2 separate regions of the Homo sapiens genome follow, and region 1 is linked to region 2. Evidence: promoter capture Hi-C in 16 types of primary human blood cells and fetal thymus (Javierre and others, 2016). All regions are on one chromosome and are shown on one strand. The core of a region is centred on a gene start or on the middle of the fragment in contact, and the rest is flanking DNA. Distances in the headings are between cores, read along the strand shown. Region 1 overlaps LOC105372948 (a long non-coding RNA gene). Region 2 holds the start of RAB36 (RAB36, member RAS oncogene family).

What was found. Contacts are between HindIII fragments. The CHiCAGO score rates a contact against its expected background, and 5 or more counts as called.
Region 1: a fragment that was not itself captured here is called in contact with the fragment with the promoter of RAB36 in region 2 in 1 of 17 cell types (megakaryocytes); the score reaches 6.5 in megakaryocytes.

Annotation. Positions count from the first base shown.
Region 1 is chr22:22,850,499-22,854,165 of GRCh38, forward strand. The region is part of intron 2 of LOC105372948 (a long non-coding RNA gene); the gene reads right to left. It also overlaps IGL and the pseudogene IGLV3-6. Among named protein-coding and RNA genes, the nearest start is that of MIR650, 30 kb to the left of the region's middle. The HindIII fragment of the contact is 171 bases long and covers 1,949-2,119 here.
Region 2 is chr22:23,143,637-23,147,431 of GRCh38, forward strand. It overlaps RAB36 (RAB36, member RAS oncogene family), which reads left to right and starts at 1,841. Exons shown (of 11, transcript NM_004914.5): 1 at 1,841-1,915; 2 at 2,969-3,049. The coding sequence starts at 2,981. It also overlaps a transcript of RSPH14 not described here. RefSeq lists a silencer at 1,594-1,663. The HindIII fragment of the contact is 8,574 bases long and covers 765-3,795 here.

The DNA.
Region 1 (3,667 bases), core at 784-3,283, 290 kb before region 2:
CATACTGGTGATATATGAAGGCAGCAAGCGGCCCTCAGGAATTTCTGATTTTCTGAGTCCAGCTCAGGGAACATGGCCACCCTGACCATCAGCAGGGCTCAGACTGAGGACGAGGCTGACTATTACTGTCACAGGTACAATAGAAACAGTGATGAGCCCACAGTGACACAGGCAGATTAGGAAGTGAGACACAAACCCCTTCCCAATCTGTGTCACCCTCTTTCTCCAGCCCCAGGATGGCTGTGGACAAAGCCATGAGCAGGGCTGGTCCAGTTCACCCAGTTCTGTGACCCCCAGGCTGCTCTTCCCTCCAGCCCTCCAGGCAGGTTGTGAAGAGGGTGAGTTAAGAAGAGATTTGAGGCTGTGTGACAGGCTATCCTGGGGTTTTTCTGGCCAAGGATAAAGCTGGTGAAAGAGAGCCTGAATGGACGGGCAGACAGAGTGGCCCATGCACGTAGTGGCAAAAGACCTGGGTTTCCACATGCCAGCCCTTCAGGCAGGCTCTGCAGAGAGTGGGTTAGGAGGAGATTTGAGGCTGTGTGGACAGGCTGTTTTGGGGTTTTCTAACCCAGGATAAAGCTGGTGAAAGAGGGCCTGGATGAAAGGACACACAAAGCGTATCTTTCATCTAGTGGTAAAGGATGTGAGTTCCATATGGTGAAGCCTGGGTCACCCCTTGGCCCAGACGTCCTAGGTTAGTCCTCAGCATTTCCCTAGCACTTAAGTTCCTGAATCTCCTGGCAGCCTTATATTCAAAACGGTGTAAGCTGGAGTGGACGCTGTGGGGTCCACCTAGACTCCACGTTAAGGTCGACCCACACACTCTCAGAGCCTACGAGTGGATACCCATGCTGTGGGGCACATGTCACCTGACAGAGTGGCTGACCACCCCTGATCTCTTCTTTCTGACCACTTGGGTGTTTGGCACTATGTCCATCATGGACACTCTATGGGCTATTAACCTATGATTCAAAGTTTCTTCTGTGTGGTGCCCGTGCCCAAAGACCACCCACAGGCTTCTGCCCATACTCCACTTCCCCCATTTCCAAGTTTTTCTCTTGCAGTCCCTGGAACACCTGCCCAGGTCATTTCCCACTGCCCTAAGCCCCTATCTGCCCTGGCATCCGGCCACTCACCTTTCCTCACAAAATGAATGACCAGGCGCCATGCCCTCATGCAGGAAAGATGTCCCCTCTCCATTGTCTCTTAATGCCACCCCTTAGTACACCCATATAGTGCAGCTGTGCTCTACTTCATGGTGATCCAGTTCATTGCTGGGCTACTCTGGAAATTTTTGCTCCATCAGCTGAGCAGAGGGACTGCTACCCACACAACGTAAGTGTAAACCCAGGGAGCAGTGCTAGAGCAAGAGAGATGCAAACTTGGCTGTGGACCACCCACAGGTTACTCAGCTCTGGGGCCCTGCTCCTGCTCCATCCTAGCTGTGTCACATCTGTCTCACCAGGGATCGCTGCTGGGGTCTGCCTGAGCACACGACGGGGGAATCTGGCAGTTCTGGCTGCTTGGTCACTGAATGTCCGATGCTGTCCTGTATCTACCAGGGAACAAGAGCACATGGGGAGAGTTGTTTTCCAAATGAATATAATTCTCTCTTGTGGATGACATGGAATTGTTCCAAATCCCATGGGATTGGAATCCCATTGGGAAAATCTCATGGGATTTTCCCATGAGAGATTGCGTAAACATGAGTTTTCAGTTCCTATCATAAATTCTTCCATTCCTATCACCAATTCTGTGACTATGGTAGAGTCTGCTGGATTCTGTGGTCCCAACAGCAGGACACTCATACCCCTGCCTGAACCTGGTGCAGAACCTCCCTGCTCTGGGCTCCAAAACAGTGGGCGATGTTCATGGCTCCTGATATATGAGTTGGAGCCACATCCCCAAGGGTTAAATATGCTGCCTCTAGACACCAGAATGACCTTAAAGCTTTGTGTTTCTTTCTGGTGGGAATTGTAAGATCTAATAACGTGCTCTTTATTTTGTGAGAGATACTAAGCTGCTCCAGAGAACTCAATCCTAAACATTTCAGCTACTACACAGGATGAATGGTCTTAGGGCTTGTTTCGCACTCTCAGGAATGCGTGGGTCTCACCAAAGCTTCCAATAGACAGGGCCCCCTCATGCACATCTGATCCAAATACAGAATAGAGCCCTAGGAGGTTCTCCTGGGTGTTCAGATGGTCAAAGCCCCTATGACAATATCATGAAAAAGAAGGGAGAGTTAATGAAGTTGAAAAAATAAAAGTATAAACCTATACTGCTGTCTACTCCTTGTATGCACACCGTTTCTGATCCTGTTCTGAGAGGAATAGAATGAGTTTCTGCATTGATGGTGCCTGCTGTGCACCTGTAGCCATGCATGGTGGTGTGTTCTATCAGGGTCTTCATCTGGCACAGCAATGGCAGATGGAACTACCAGCTGACTGCGTCTGTAGAAATCCACTTCCATCTTCCAGGATCCATTCAACAATTGTAGGAATCATTTCAGTAAACCAAACACAAGAGCCTCAACTATAACTACAAGTCCTCCAGGAGAGGAGAACGCTGTCTCAGAGGGTGCATTCCTACTGGAATTTCTCTTCTCTTTGGGACAAACCAGCCCAGAGGAGGCACAGGGGCTGTGTGTCATCTGGTTTCCTAGATGAGGTGTCTCCTCCTCACTGTCCTGAGATTTTGAAGAAACTGGGGAGATTGGTGCAGACACTCCTTGGATCCTTACAGGAAACTTCCTTCAGACCACACACTCCTCAATTTGTTCCCAAGCTCCAAAGTTTCTAAAGTCACTGTCTAAAGGGCCCACAGTGTTTTTGTGGAGTGGTGGAAAAGCTCTGGGGATGGAAAGTGGTGGTGGTTGCAAAGCATTCTGAATGTACTTACTGTTGCTGAATGCACACTTACAAATGATTGAAATGGTTTAAAAATTGTTCATTTTGCCATAATAAAAATACTGCACACTCTGGAGGAAAGTAAACCTAGTTTAATTTTGAAATTGTTCAATGGATACCAATCAAAGAATAGTGTAGCAAGCACCATTTCCCCTCTCGCTATAGCAGCAACTGATCCCCTTGTGCTCTTTTGGACTCTCTCCCCTGCTCTCTCTCTCTCAATAATAAGCAATGCTCTTCTCTCCAGTCCAAGCTCACACTTCCCCAGTTGTGCAGGAATGCCTATTGTAACTGTTAATTTATTTCCAGGCAGAGTCCTCAAGATTCCTCTGCTCATATTCTGTTCTCAGCTGTCTGGAGCCAGCATGACAAGTGAGCCAAGATCACTTGTCATGAGAGACTTGTGGAAGGTTTTGCAAAAAGTTCCCCAAGAAAAAACAATGCTCATTGTTGACAGCAGGTCCATTTCCACACAGTAGGGCCATGCTGGGTGTGCAGTGGGGCTGTGCACACTGTGCCCACAGGCCAGGCTCTGCACTGCTGACTCTGATCCTGTGCTTGGTAGGACCTTGTGCACTGCTGAGTCCACTGCAGACTCGACCCTGAATGGGAAGGTGGTTCCTAGCTGCTGGGCACTGAGTCTCATAGAGGGACAGATGGTATTGAGGATGCCCGGCCCCTGATGTACATAAGGGGACAAGGTCTGCTGGTAGAACAGGAAGATGAAGGAACCTGTGGCTCTAAAGGTGGGGTCTCCA
Region 2 (3,795 bases), core at 591-3,090:
AGTATAAAAGCATCTTGCTTTGGCCACTTCTCTAGACTTCACTCTGGTAAAGATCCCCATGCGCATGTAAAACTAATAACACTTGTATGCTTTTCTCTTGCTAATCTGCCCAGTGTCAGTTTGGTTTCTAGATCTAGGCAAAGAGCCCACTTAAGAGCTAAAGGAGGATTGGGGCCAGGTGTGCTGGCTTACGCCTGTAATCCCAACACTTTGGGAAGCCAAGGCCGGCGGATCACATGAGGCCAGGAGTTCAAAACCAGCCTGGCACACATGGCAAAACCCCATCTCTACTAAAAAAATTTAAAAATTAGCCAAGCATGGTTGGTGCGCACCTGTGGTCCCAGCTACTCGGGAGGCTGAGGCAGGAGAATCGCTTGAGCCGGGAGGCGGAGATTGCAGTGAGCCGAGATCACACTACTGCACTCCAGCCTGGGCGACAGAGTGAGACTCCATCTCAAAAAAAAAAAAAAAAAAAAAAAAAAAACAGCTAAAGGAGGAGTTCAGGGTGATCTCTAGCTCCTGCCAAATCCCCAAATCCAAATTAGTAAGTGACCCCACAGCTTAATCTTCCCTTCTCCTAAATCCCATTGGCACACTCCCTTCCCCTAATTCTCTATTTACTTCTCTGCTTCCCGCAGTGGACTCCAATTTCCCTGAGGGTGGACACCATGTCCGTTCTCTTTCCTTGTCTCCCCAGTGCTAGGCATATACCAGGAAGCTTTCAGTACATGTAGGACAAATGAATAGTTAATGGACTTGAATCAAGCTTTACAGTATAAAAGCACTTTCACCATCTCAGGTGATCCATTGAAATAGATAGTTGCGTTTATTTTATAGTTGAGTAAACTGAGGTGCGGAAGGTGGAACAACTCACCTAAGTTCACCCCCTAAGCCTCAACCTTAGCAGTGAAACTCACTAAAAGACATTAAACAGAGCCAGGTGTGGTGGCCCTTGCCTGTAGTCCCAAGGACTGGGGAGGCTGAGGCGGGAGGATTCCTTGAGCCTAGGAGTTCGAGTCCAGCCTGGACAACATAGCAAGACTCCATCTCTTTAAAAAAAAAAAAAAAAGACATCAAACACCAGCCTCCAGCACACTTAGCTTTGAATTGAAGATGACTGAGTTAGATCTGTGTACCAAGGCTTCCATATTGTGATGCAGAAAAGTTAAGGAGCTGAATTAAGTAGGTTCTCAAACTGAACCCCGGACTTCGAAGCTGGTTCCACGGTTTTATAAGGGCCACAAGAGGCCATCTAGCCCAAAACAGCTAACTTTCCAAACCGAAACTAGTTCAGAGGAAATCACTGACTCAGGTCAGCTTTTTATTAAGGAAATTAATTTTGTACCGTGAGCTCTAGAAGCCAGGCATATGATATTCAGACAGCACTGGATTCAGAACTATGCAGACTAAGGTCAGTAGATGGTAGGCAGGTCTATCTTCTGCAGCTGCAGGGTGCTTGACTCCAATTAAACATCAATACCACATCAGGAGCTCTTATGCCATAACCGCCCAACCTCTCCCAGCCGAGCTGATCACCAGAACCTGCGCGAATCTCTCCACGGTCAGCCCCACCCAGGGCTCAGGCTCCGCCCCCGGGCCTCCATAGCCCCGCCCACCGCCCACCCATCCAGCACCGCCCTTGTTGTCATGGTGATCTCCGGCTCTCCAGGGTGTCCAGGAGTCTCTCTGCTGCCAGCCCCGCCCAGACTCCAGGCAGGTTCTCGTTGCTATGGTGATCGCCGGTGCAAGCTGGATGCTTGGACGCGCCGCTGCCAGTCCAACGCAGACCCCGCCCACGACGTCGACGATTCGTGTAGCCCGCAGGTCCCGCGTGGCTCTCGTTGCCATGGTGATCGCCGCCGCTGGCTCAGGCGGACCAGGCCGCGCGGAGCCCCAGCTTTCACAGCCATCGCTGGTGAGTCAGCTCGCCCACTCTGTCCGACCCTCCCGGTCACCCAACCCCGTGCTGGCACATCCCGAGGCCAGGGCCGCGAGGGCACAGCGTCCGCGCCCACTTCCCGCCCCTATAACTTGAAAGCGGCCTGCGGCCCCGGGGCGTCCTCATTTCCGGAGCGCAAACTCTGGGCCAGGCCCGCGCTGGTTGTGGAGGAGAGCCAGGTCAGATGCGGGAAGACAACCGGACTCCGCCAGGACCACCCCAGCCCAGCCTGGAGAGGAGTCCGGACAGAAAAAGGAGACAGAGGGGCTGTTGAGGAGGCTCGAGGAGTCAGAGGCCTGGTGAAGTGAGGGTTTTCAGGGAAAAGGCCTAGTTGGCTGAAAGTTAAGGCCCCCAGGCCCACCTAGAGCCTTCGTCCTTTGCAGACTGGGAGCAGGAGACCCCTCCCCACTCTACTTCCACTGCCTGAGCTGTGCCATGCCTCACAGCCCAGTAAGGTAAGCTCAGAGGGGAGCTCCTCCTTGGTAGACACCTGTCAAGGGGAGACCCAGGTCTTCTGACTCCCAGGCAGGGTGGGGCAGGCCTGGTTCCCCCATACCATGCTGCCTGCTGTATGCAGATTGAGAGAAATGGCCTCTGCCCCATATTCCTGACAGAGAGGGAAGCCTGGATCTGGTTTTATTTATAATTCTTGAGACAAGGTCTTACTCTATCACCCAGGCTGGAGTGCAGTGGCACCTTCACGGTTCACTGCACCCTTGACCTCCCAGGCTCAAGCATTCCTCCCACCTTCCTCCCAAGTAGCTGGGACTGCAGGCACAGGCCACCATGCCCTGCTAATTTTTTTGGTTTTTTTTTGTAGAGACTGAGGTTTCACTTTGTTGCCCAGGCTGGTCTCAACCTCCTGGGCCCAAGTGATCCTCCCACCTTGGCCTCCCAAAGTGCTGGGATTACAGGCATGAGCCACTGCACCCAGCCTGGATCTGATGAAAAGTTAGGTGGAAACTCATGGGTGAATCCCCAGGTATTTGCACAGCTCCTTAACTGTCTTTCTCCTGGTTGGGTCCACAGGACTGTGGAAGAATGAGGTCCTCCCTGACACCTTTGGGGCCCCCTGTGAGCCGCGACCGTGTCATCGCCAGCTTCCCTAAGGTAGAGAGTCATTACGTCTGCAGTGCTCTCCTGGCCCTGCAGCCACATCAGCTCTCCCCACTCTACACTCATGCCTAGAAGTAAAGCAGGTGAATCAAGGAGGTCTGTCCATTGTCAGATTTACCTTGAGGAGCTGGGAGACTGGTCACTGACTGCCCAAGGTGGGACCGCAAGTTAATGGTGACACTGGGCAGCAGTGTGGCCTGGAGGTTATAAGGGCTGGGATTTTGCAGCCAGACAGTCCTTGATGTGAATCCTTCATTCTGATTCTGTCATTAAGCTGTGTGGCTGTGGGCAAATTACTCAACCTCTCAGAGCCACTGTTACATGAAGGTAATTCCTCTCATATTGGGTGCCTGGCTCATGGTATGCAGGAGCTCCCCTGCAGTCATAGTTGCTGTTGTTCTCATCATCGTTGTTGTTATCAAAACAGCATTCCAGTTCCATGACCCCAAATCCAGGGCTCTCTCCTCTTGCCATTCCGCCTCTATGAGCTTGAAAACTCACAGCTCTCTTGTGTCTGTATTAAAATCCAATATTAATTGCAGCAGGGAATACAAATTGAGTACAACCTCCATAGGGGGCAGTGGACAATATTTACCAATATAGAAGATGACCCTGCCCTCTAAGATCCAGCCATTCTGTTTCTTTTTTCTTTTTTTTTTAGAGACAGGATCTTGCTCTGTCACCCAGGCTGGAGTGCAATGGTGCCATCATAATTCACTCCTCTAACTCCTGGGCTGAAG